Linked DNA regions of Homo sapiens: regions 2 and 3 are each linked to region 1. Evidence: promoter capture Hi-C in 16 types of primary human blood cells and fetal thymus (Javierre and others, 2016). All regions are on one chromosome and are shown on one strand. The core of a region is centred on a gene start or on the middle of the fragment in contact, and the rest is flanking DNA. Distances in the headings are between cores, read along the strand shown. Region 1 holds the start of GNA14 (G protein subunit alpha 14). Region 2 has its middle 70 kb from the start of GNAQ. Region 3 has its middle 85 kb from the start of CEP78.

The links. Contacts are between HindIII fragments. The CHiCAGO score rates a contact against its expected background, and 5 or more counts as called.
Region 2: a contact is called between a fragment that was not itself captured here and the fragment with the promoter of GNA14 in region 1, in 1 of 17 cell types (erythroblasts). The highest score is 5.1, in erythroblasts.
Region 3: a fragment that was not itself captured here is called in contact with the fragment with the promoter of GNA14 in region 1 in 1 of 17 cell types (neutrophils); the score reaches 5.6 in neutrophils.

Annotation. Positions count from the first base shown.
Region 1 is chr9:77,646,361-77,649,879 of GRCh38, forward strand. GNA14 (G protein subunit alpha 14) reads right to left here and starts at 1,962. Exons shown (of 7, transcript NM_004297.4): 1 at 1,310-1,962. The coding sequence starts at 1,433. The HindIII fragment of the contact is 2,117 bases long and covers 224-2,340 here.
Region 2 is chr9:78,099,600-78,103,099 of GRCh38, forward strand. No RefSeq gene overlaps it. Among named protein-coding and RNA genes, the nearest start is that of GNAQ, 70 kb to the left of the region's middle. The HindIII fragment of the contact is 1,400 bases long and covers 1,017-2,416 here.
Region 3 is chr9:78,149,589-78,152,977 of GRCh38, forward strand. It overlaps the pseudogene SYNGR2P2. Among named protein-coding and RNA genes, the nearest start is that of CEP78, 85 kb to the right of the region's middle. The HindIII fragment of the contact is 3,871 bases long and covers 1-3,389 here.

The DNA.
Region 1 (3,519 bases), core at 712-3,211:
GGGAGGGGGCAGCATGGTCTCTGGGTAGCAAGCCCCTTTGGACCTACAGACTTCCAGCTCTGTGGGGAGGGGCACACCCCCCCCCAACCCCCAGAAGGCCAGACTGGGCCCTTTAAACCCAGGGGATAAGGATAAGGGGGTTCTTCCGCCCAGGTCTGAAGGCCATACTGGCTGAGAGCCTTCTCTATATTACACTAACTAGATCAACTTTTTCTTTCCTTGAAGCTTTCTGGGAGGGTGATTCCTATACAAGGAATAAAGATGAATAAATAGATGGTATAAGAGAAGATTCCTGTTCAAAAGGGGTGAAAGAAAAAAAGTTGAAATCTTTGTGGCTATCTAGAAAAAAATTGACAGCTGATATCATGGTCTGAAAGGTAGAAAAGGTAAAATATTCCTCAAACAGCAAATGTGTTGACAGCGTTCTAGAAAGTCTGAGATGGGATCCTTGCCTCATGGCATAACTTGGGCAAACCTTAAACTGTGTTCTTTCTGTGTTTGAAAGTGGATGTCCTACCCAGACCTTTGCAGAGACACCAAAAGAGCTGGATGAAGACCTGCCAGAGGCACCAGGGCAGCCAAGCTGAATCCTAGGACGTGGACACACTGAGTCAAGCTGGGCAAGGGAGGTTTGGGTCCGCTGCAAACACAAAGGCCTGAGGGACCCCCATGGGAGGCAGGCATAGGAGCTCACGGTCAGAGGAGCAGCAACGGCATGGGCTTCACCCCCACAGCTGACCTAGCATCGGCTTTGCCTTTTCTCAATCAGGGCAAGTTGGTCAGTTCTCCAGGCCTCCATGTTTTAATTCTCTAGAATAGCGATATCACCTGCCCGCATCACCAGGTGGTGATGCCCTTAAGAACTTAGCACGATCTGGCACATGGTAAATTCTCAAGATGCTTCATCTAGAACTGAAAGCGTACGGGTCAGAGCTAGCGCTGAACCCAAGATGTGGGTCACCACAGACCCCAAGCTGGGTGTGCTGCGGGCGGAGGAGTGGACGGGGTTTTGAGGAGAGGGGCACACCGGAACACATAAGGTACAGCGGTCAAGAGGTTAAGTGTTACAGGTCCCTATCCTGTTTTGGGGCAGGGGAAGGTGTTGCTTTTGCAAGTCGCCCAGCCAGAGATGGAAAGAACAGGCACCTAAGGCCCCAAGTTGCTGGCATCCGTGAGCTCCGAGGGGGAGAAGGACGAAGCCGCCCTGCACCCCGCTGGGCTCCAGGGCCGCGCGGGTGCCAGTGGAGAGGCCGGGAGGGCTCGGAAGAAAAACGCCCGGCTCACTGGAGTCGGAGACGCAGCCACTCACCCAGCAGCAGCAGCTTAAGCTCACGGCGCGCGTCCTTCTTGTCCCGACGAAGCTGTCGCTCGATCTCCGCGCTGATGCGCTGCGACTCCTTCTCCTCCGCGGACAGGCAGCAGCAGCCGGCCATGGTGCGCTCAGCTCAGTACCCGACGGGGCGACGCGGCCCCGGGCACCCGAATCCTCGGCCCGGCCGCTCACCCGGCCAGCATGCGACGGGCACAGGGGTGTGGAAAGAAAAGACGGGGGCCGACTTGAGCTTTGGAGTAAGACGCCTGGACCTCCGAGGCTCAATCCCCCTTCGAAAGTCGGCTCTGAGGCGGGGTGAATGCCGAGCGCTGGGAACGCTCGAGTGCACCCCGGATCCGGGCTCAGCCCGCCCCACTCTCGCTCTGGGGAGGAGGAGGGCGAGTCGAGAAGTTGGGAGCGTTGCTGGCCCCGGGAAGATGCGCGCGCCCCTTGGCACAGGAGCCGGACAGCAGTCGGGGGCGCAGACGAGTTGGAACGTCGGTGCTCGGGGGAGAGTAGGATCTCCTGGGCCTAGGGGTGTCCCCAGGCGGGAGGTAGGCGCGGAGTGGGTTGGAGGCAAAGGACCTGGCTGGCCTTTGCCTGGAAAGTTCTGAAAACCTCAGCAGTGACCGCAGACTAAGACTGAGTGGAAAGGTTCCCGCTAGCGTTTGTGGCTCTAAGTGGCAGGAGGAGGCGGAGCATCTTGAACCTGCAGCCCTGGCGTCTGCTGGACTTGCCCTTCTGGGCACCCCAAGCCGAAGGCGCCTGGAAGTGAAAGGGGACGAGCAGGGGGCGCGGAGCTGGGGGTGGGAGCTGGCACCTCTAGGAGCAGCTCCCACACTTGCCTCCCTGGCTGGGGCGTCCCGGCCAAGGTTTGCTGTAATCTGCGCGTCTGGCCGCCAGGCACCGGGTTCCGACAGGTGAGTGAGTTTCGCCAACTCACTCGCTCGGAGAAGGCGGCAGCAGGCTGGAAGAGGAGCGGCGCCAAGCGTCTGTTGCGGGACACAAAGCCCCGGACCTGAAGTGGAAGCTTGCCCACCAGCTTCACCACCACGCACACCCGGATTTCCTAGACTGGCTCCTTCCGCTTCCCGGACGCCCCGGCCCAGCTCGGGCTTGGCCAAAGCCCTTGGTCAGCTCGGCAATTTGCCTGTAAAGTGTGGCTGGGCCTGAGCCTGCTGGCTCTGAGCTCGGAGAAGGAGCCGCCGCTGGGTTCAGTTATAAGAGAACTGCAAGAGCCCAGGGTAAATATCCTCTCGGTCTCCGGACGAGGGGGCTGGGGAGAAAGGGAACGGCTGATTGCTTTGCATTTTATGATGGGAAAGACACCTGCTTTGTAGAAAGGGCTGATACGTTCCTAGTAGCACCTGGCAAGTTTCCTGCCCAGCCCTGAAGCCTAACAGCCGCCTTGCGATTGTGTCCGCACTGACACCTTGGCCTGTATCCTGGACCGTCGGGGTCAAGTTTGAGCAGCATTAATAAAAACTTTAAAAGCACCTCTTAGTACTTAAGTGACACGATAAAATGCATATTACAACATCTGACTTTTGTCTGTGTAGATTTTGATGCAGAAAAGGGAAGGTGGGGAGAGGGGATCCTATTGGCCACAGCAATGAACGTTCTTTCCTTCTCAAGTCAGTATAGGCCATATGCTAATGGGGCGTTAGGCAATTAGCTAGCGCTTCCTCTACTAAGAGCAGGCATAAGTGCCTTTCATTTGAGTAGCATATATTTTATAAATTCAAACTGAGGAGCACATTGAGTGGAATGGTACGTGTCATTATATAAAGAAGTTGGTATCGCGATGCTATCTGGCTGCATGTTCTTATTATTTTACAGTTTAAGAAATGTAGAGGAATCAGACATTAAAAATGTGCATACATGCTTTAATGTGTGACTATTTTAGTTTTCTTGCAGGCATAAATTGACAGTAACAGTGACCCCTACAGGAAAACTCCTGGACATTTCAGATTTGATCTTTGGCCATTTAATAGCCTGTTTCTTCTCTCTTAGCTCTTACGGATTCATTTACAATTTGAGAATAAGATCTCTTGGCTTCTCAAAGTCATGGTTGCATCATAATTGTTATCATTTAAAAATTATAAAAAATTTTTAAATGATTAAAACTAGGGCAAATTTGAACTCTTACGTTAACGGGAATTACTGATACTGACCTATTAGGTTTAAAGTTGGCAAGATTTCAAAAA
Region 2 (3,500 bases), core at 467-2,966, 450 kb after region 1:
CCCATCTCCCACCTCCAAAATCCATATGTTAAAGCCTTAAACCCTCACCCTCAGTGTGACTGTTTGGAAATAGGGTCTTTAAAGAGGTAATTAAGGTTGAATGAGAGCTCAAGTGTAGGGCCCTAATTCAAAAGGACTGTCTTTTTTTTTCTTTTTTTTCTTTTTGAGATGGAGTTTTGCTCTGTTGACCAGGCTGGAGTGCAGTGGTGCAATCTCGGCTCACCACAACCTCTGCCTCCTGGGTTCAAGCGATTCTCCTGCCTCAGCCTCCCGAGTAGCTGGGACTACAGGCATGTGCCATCATGCCCAGCTAATTTTTGTATATTTAGTAGAGATGGGGTTTCACTATGTTGGACAGGCTGGTCTCAAACTCCTGACCTTGTGATCCGCCCACCTCAGCCTCCCAAAGTGCTGGGATTACAGGCGTGAGCCTCCGCGCCCAGCCTTGGACTGGCATTTTTACAAGAACAGGAATAGGTATCAGGAGTCATCATGCACAGAGGAAAGGCCCTGTGAGGACACAGAGAGGAGGCAGCCATCTCCAAGCCAGGAAAAATGGTCTTCCCAGAAACAAGCCCTGCTGGCACCTTAATTTTGGACTTCCAGCCTCTAAGACTGTGAGAAAGTACATTTCTGTTGTGTAAGCTACCCAGTGTGTGGCATTCTGTTTCAGCAGCCTGAGCAGAGTAATACATCTACCACACCACTTGCAAGTTATGGTGCAGGAGTTGGCGAAGGGTTATAGAAATAAACAAGGTAAGGCTGGATTCTGTCCCCTAGAGAAGCATAGGAGCACATGTGAGACGAAGAACATGACTCTGGAGCTAGATTGCACTGTGTGACTTTGAGCAAGTTACTTAAATTCTCTGAGCATCAATTTCCCATCTCCAAATTGAGGATGATAATAATATGTAGGTATGTTATGAGGATTAAATGCTTACTGTTTACAGAGGACCTAGAACAGTGTCTGACACACAGTAAACACAATATAAGTATTTGATTAACAAATAGATGAAAGCTTTGTACATTGGAAAAAAGGACACGAGGTCAGAAATATGAAGAATAACGTTAAATAATTATGACTTGCTGATAATTTTCATGTAATATATCAGATAAGATTACATACTCCCTTCAAAAAATGATAGCACATCTCCTTTAATGTAAAACCAAACTATAATGTTACAAAAGAAAATAAAATTAATAATAATATATCAATATTGGTTTATTAATTGTGACAAATATACAGGAAAAAATGTTAGGAGAAATTGGGTGTGGGGTGTATGAGAACTCTGTACTATCTTTGCAAAAATTAAGTACATTGAAAGATATTCTAAACTAAAATTCTATTTTTTAAAAAAGAATATATGGCTCATGACTGTAATCCCAGCACTTTGGGAGGCCAAGGCGGGTGGATCACAAGGTCAGGAGATCTAGACCATCCTGGCCAACATAGTGAAACCCCGTCTCTAGAAAAATACAAAAATTAGCTGAGTGAGGTGGAACGCGCCTGTAGTGCCCAGCTACTCGGGAGGCTGAGGCAGGAGAATCGCCTGAAGTGGAGGTTGCAGTGAGCTGAGATCGCATCACTTCACTCCAGCCTGGCAACAGAGCGAGACTCCCTCTCAAAAAAAAAAAAAAAAAAAAAAAAGAATATGAATTAAGGAGTAATTATTTACTTCACAGAAATGTTGATTGTTAAATGACAGAATTTAAGAGCTGAGTCACAGTAATCTTGAATTCACCTTGTCTATTTTACAGAGGAGTGTTGATTTAGGCTTGCTTCACACGTGGCTAATTTTCAAGATCAAATTCACACAGGAAAACAAGGGGGGCAGAAAGACAAAGCACTAACCTAGAAGGTGAGGTGCATCATGTTTCACTCAATGTGGCCGTGGCTCAGGCACATCACAGTAACAGTTCTGGACCTCAGTTTTTCATTGGTTACTTTCACTCTAACATTCTTGATTCTAAACTTGATGTGCATCTACATCACAACATAAGGCAGCTCTGGGGAGCAGGCTCTAACTGATGCTTTCTCCAAGCCCCTAGAAGCTATGCATATGCAGTTTGTGTGCCAATTTCTGAGTGTGTGTGAGGAAATGCAGGGGTGAATCGATGGACAAATAACTAGACAAATATATTTGTTTTAAAGACTCAACATTGAGGACCAAGTTTTCATAGTGAATACCATTCAGCAAGTCGATTAATCAGATTTGGATAGGAGTAAATGTGGGCAAACCTTGACAATAAAATATTTACTGAAAGTCTGCAAGGGGAAGATGACATTCTAAATAGGTACATGCTATATGTTATTAACAGATCAAATTTGATTTAGAAAAGGAGAGATCTGGAATTTCCTATAAAAGCAAGAAAGACTATGAACTAACGCAAGAAATTTTGAAGCTGAAGGAAAGAAAGCTTATAAAGAGTTCAAGATAATGGGGCCTGATGCTGGCTGATGTTGAAGAAATGCTGTTACCAATAGCAGGCAGACCTGGATCTGACAGCCACCTGTTGAGAAAGCCCTGAAGAATAATGGCAGCTATTCAGTCAACAAATTTGGGGAGAAACTCAATTGCCCCAGAGGCCCTTTTCAATTCTGCTACTAGTTTTCATGAACAAATTGTCATTCTTATTGTAATGCTTACTTTACTGTGAAAGTCATGATATTTTTCTTCTGTAAAATACTATCCTAACACAGTCAATAATAATTAATGAGTGGTAACCCAGTGATTCATGGGCTATAATTTTTTTTACCAAGTAAATCATAGTCTCATCTTAGCAAGTTATTAAATGGATAAAAGTCCTTCAAATCCTGCAAATCATTTGATTTAAGACTTAATTCATGTTCAATGAAATTTATTTTTTTAACTATTTTAAACAGCATTGATTGAGACAAAAGCTCAAGAAAATGGGTAGTTTCTACATTGCTTTGAGATTGATGCTATTTAAAAGATTTGTGCTTGAAATATTGAAAACTAATGGCCACCCTAATTGTTCTTCTAAAGCTAAAGCTATTAAATAACCATCTTCAGAAGTATCCCTTGGAGCAGGTTTACTCGTGAGCATAGTATTCATGTTCTAGAAGCCAATGATGTTTTTTAGGTGGAACAAAAGGGATTTTCCTCTGCTTACATTTTATCTGGAAATATGTTTCATCAAGCAGACAGCCAGATGGAAATAGCAAGATTTTTTTTATAGTCAATAAATAACTCTGCTGCTAGAATAACTCAGACTTGACAGCAATCTACGCAACAGTTTATTCTTCTGCTCTCTCAGGATGTAAACACTGTTGTCAACAACCAATCAGATGCACTAAAGCTACAAATAGCATGTTTAGTTTATATGTATATGCAATCAGCTAAACAAAATTTTGAACATCAATGGGACCCATTTCTAATCACTTTGTTCTTGTTCAGGTCCATCACACTGCATAACTTCAGGGGGCACCAATCACATTTTAGTCAATATATAACTAATTGTAGATAATATGAATGGTG
Region 3 (3,389 bases), core at 551-3,050, 500 kb after region 1:
TTGATGAACAGCACTAATAACTACTACAGAATGTGAGGGGAGTAAAAGGTAGAAATGAACAGAATATTTTTAGAAATTTTAATCAGCTTTATTGGGTATAAACACATTTAAAAAACCATAAAATTCATGTTTTTTTTTTTTTTTTTTTTTTTGGAATGAGAAAACATTTATTCCATCTCCAAACAGCATCCCAGGGCGGGGCATCTCCCCTAAGGCTTTATAATACATTCAGCACAGACAGAGTCTGGGAGCCATGGGGCACCCCTGCCCTCCTCACGCTTCTTAAGTAACAACTGCATAATATTTACATAAAGCTGGGTGTTGTCAGGCAAAGCTCTTCCCTGCTGCCAGGAGTGGGAGCAAGGAGGAAGTGTTGTGGGCACCGGCCCCACCCCCACACCATGGGAGGCAGCCCAGAGACCACTGGCACAGGGTGGTGGCCCCCAGATCATACAGCAGTGGGGATAGGGGGAGCAAACCTGAGTGAGGACGCAGGAGCCTGGTCCCGCCCCACTGCACAGGGCAGGTGTGAGGGCTCCCCCGAGTCTTTGGCAGAGAACGCAGATAACAGCGACTCCCACAGCCTGACCTGGGCTGGGGGGAAGCTGAGGCACTTGTCAGTAGCACATGGGTGCCTGCTGGCTTCTAGCCACTCCAGGAGGGGCCGGGGTCATTAAAAGCAAGGAGAAACACTAGCTAAAAACCCTTTCCTAAAAGTGTCATGGAAGAGTGAGTGGCTGACTGAAGCCATCTGTGTGCGGGCACTTGGGGTGTGGCTCTGCCAGACCCCGAGGCTGGGAGGCTCCTTAGCTGTGTGTCAATCGCACAGGACGTGACAGGCGAAGGAGGGGGGCTGGCAGTTCCAGGAGGCTCGTGGGAAAGTCCAGGGCAGAGGGGAGGGTCCTCTCTGCCCCCCTTCCCACCCCAAACGGCACTCAGCCACTCAGTACACAGGGGGCGGCTGGTAGCCCTCAGTGGTCTCCGCATTCTGGGTGAAGGGCAGATGCTGGTAGTTGTCCACAGATGCACCTGGGTAGGAGGCGTAGGCAGTGTTGGGGTCCAGGGTGGAGTCGACGTAGTTCTGGATGAAGTCCACGCCAGCCTTGTAGTGCCGGTAGGCCAGGAAGGCCAGCACGCCCCAGGAGAAGATGGAAAAGAAGCTGAAGGTGATGGCTGCCTGCGCGGAGTTGGCCCCCACCAGCACGTCCTCCGGTTGGGTGGCCGCCCACTGGTTAGTGAGGAAGTAGAAACCAACAAACCACAGGAAGGCTCAGAGAGCTGAGAAGAGCAGGTCACCCACGACCAGGTACTTGCGGTCAGTGGCATTAATGATCTGGGGAAAATAAACGTCGACCACCAAGGAGGCCGAGGCCTGGAAGGCCAGCACCCTGATGGCATTGCGGTAGCGGAAGGCGTCCTCGTTATGGTTGAAAACGCAGTACCTCTGCTTAGACTTGCTGTAGCCCTTGTCATAGATGCAGGAGAACACGATCAAGGCGAAGACCCTGCACGCAGCGCTCACCACCACCTGCGGTTGCGTCAGGAAGCGCCCGCAGGTGGAAGGAGCCGCCCGCCTTTGGCAGCGCCATAGGCCCCGCTCTCCATGTTGCCGTCGCCGCAGCCAAATTCATGTGTTTTAAATGTACAGTTTGATGAGTTTTGACAAATGCATGTAGTCATGTAACCACCACCACAATCAAGGTATAGAATATGTTCATCACCCACCATAATTGCCTTCTGTCACATAACATTTGACCCTGTTTTCACACCTCCACTCTTTGGCAACCACTGATCTGATTTCTGTCACCACAGTTTTGCCTTTTCTGGAATGTCATAAAAATAGAATCATATGGTATGTAGTCTCCTGAGTCTGGCTTCTTGCACTGCGCTTAACGGTTTTGAGATTTATTTGTTTGTGCAAAAATCATATTCTTTTTTGTTGTTGTTTACTAGTATTCCATTTTGTGGATAACCAAGATTTGTTTGTTCATTAAGCCTATTGGACATTTGGGGTGCTTCTAGTTTGGAGCTACTATGAATAAAGTCCATTGTGAACCTTTATATTCTTTTGTATGAACATCTGTATGCATTTAAGTCAGGTCAATACCTAATAGTGAAATTGCTGGGTGATGTAGTAAGTTTGTGTTTAAATATATGAGAAATGACTAATCTGTTTTCTGAAGTGGCTTTGCATTTCCACCAGCCATGTCTGAGAACTCCAATTGCACCATATTCCTGCCTATGTTGTTATTGTCAGCCTTTTAAATTTTAGTCATTATAGGCTTGGCGCGGTGGCTCACGGCTGTAATCTCAGCGCTTTGGGAAGCCGAGGCGGGCAGATCAGGAGGTCAGGAGATTGAGACCATCCTGGCTAACAAGGTGAAACCCTGTCTCTACTAAAAATACAAAAAATTAGCCGGGCATGGTGGCAGGCGCCTGTAGTCCCAGCTACTCAGGAGGCTGAGGCAGGAGAATGGCTTGAACCTGGGAGGCGGAGCTTGCAGTGAGCCAAGATCGGCCACTGCACTCCAGCCTGGGTGACAGAGAGAGACTCCATCTCAAAAAAAAAAAAAAAAAAATTTAGTCATTATAATGAATATGTAATGGTATTTCATTATGGTTTTAGTTTGTATTTCTTTAATAACTAAAGAAATTGAGTGTCTTTTCACTTGCTATTTGTATAGCCTTTGTGATGTGTATGTTCAAATCTTCTGTACATTAAAAAAATTGAACTAGTTTCTTCTTGTTATTGAATAATAAGAGTCCTGCATACTTCTGGATACAGATTCTTCATCAGATATATGTTTTGTAAAGATTTCATGCCTGTTTGTGGTATGCCTTTCCATGTTTTTAACAGAGTCTTTTCAGAAGCAAACATTTAAAAGTTCAACTTATCCATTTTTTTAATAAAGTTTATGCTTTTTGTGTCCTACCAAAAATCTTTGCCTAGCCCCAGATCACAAAATCTCCCTCTGTAGTTTATTCAAGAATATTTATAATTTTATTTTATTTATTTATTTATTTTTGAGACAGAGTCTTGCTGTCACCCAGGCCGTAGCACAGTGGCATGATCTTGGCTCACTGCAACTTTTGCCTCCTGGGTTCGAGTGATTCTCATGCCTCAGCCTCCTGAGTAGCTGGGATTACAGGTGTGCACCACCACACCCAACTAATTTTTGTAGATTTTAGTAGAGACAGGGTTTCACCATGTTGGCCAGGCTGGTCTCAAACTCCTGGCCTCAAGTGATCCACCTGCTTTGGCCTCCCAAAGTGTTGGGATTACAGGCATGAGCCACTGCACTCGGCCTATATTTATAATTTTAGTTCTAATATTTAGGTCTATGATCTATATGGAATTATTTTTGGTATATGGTGTGAGGATAAGGGTT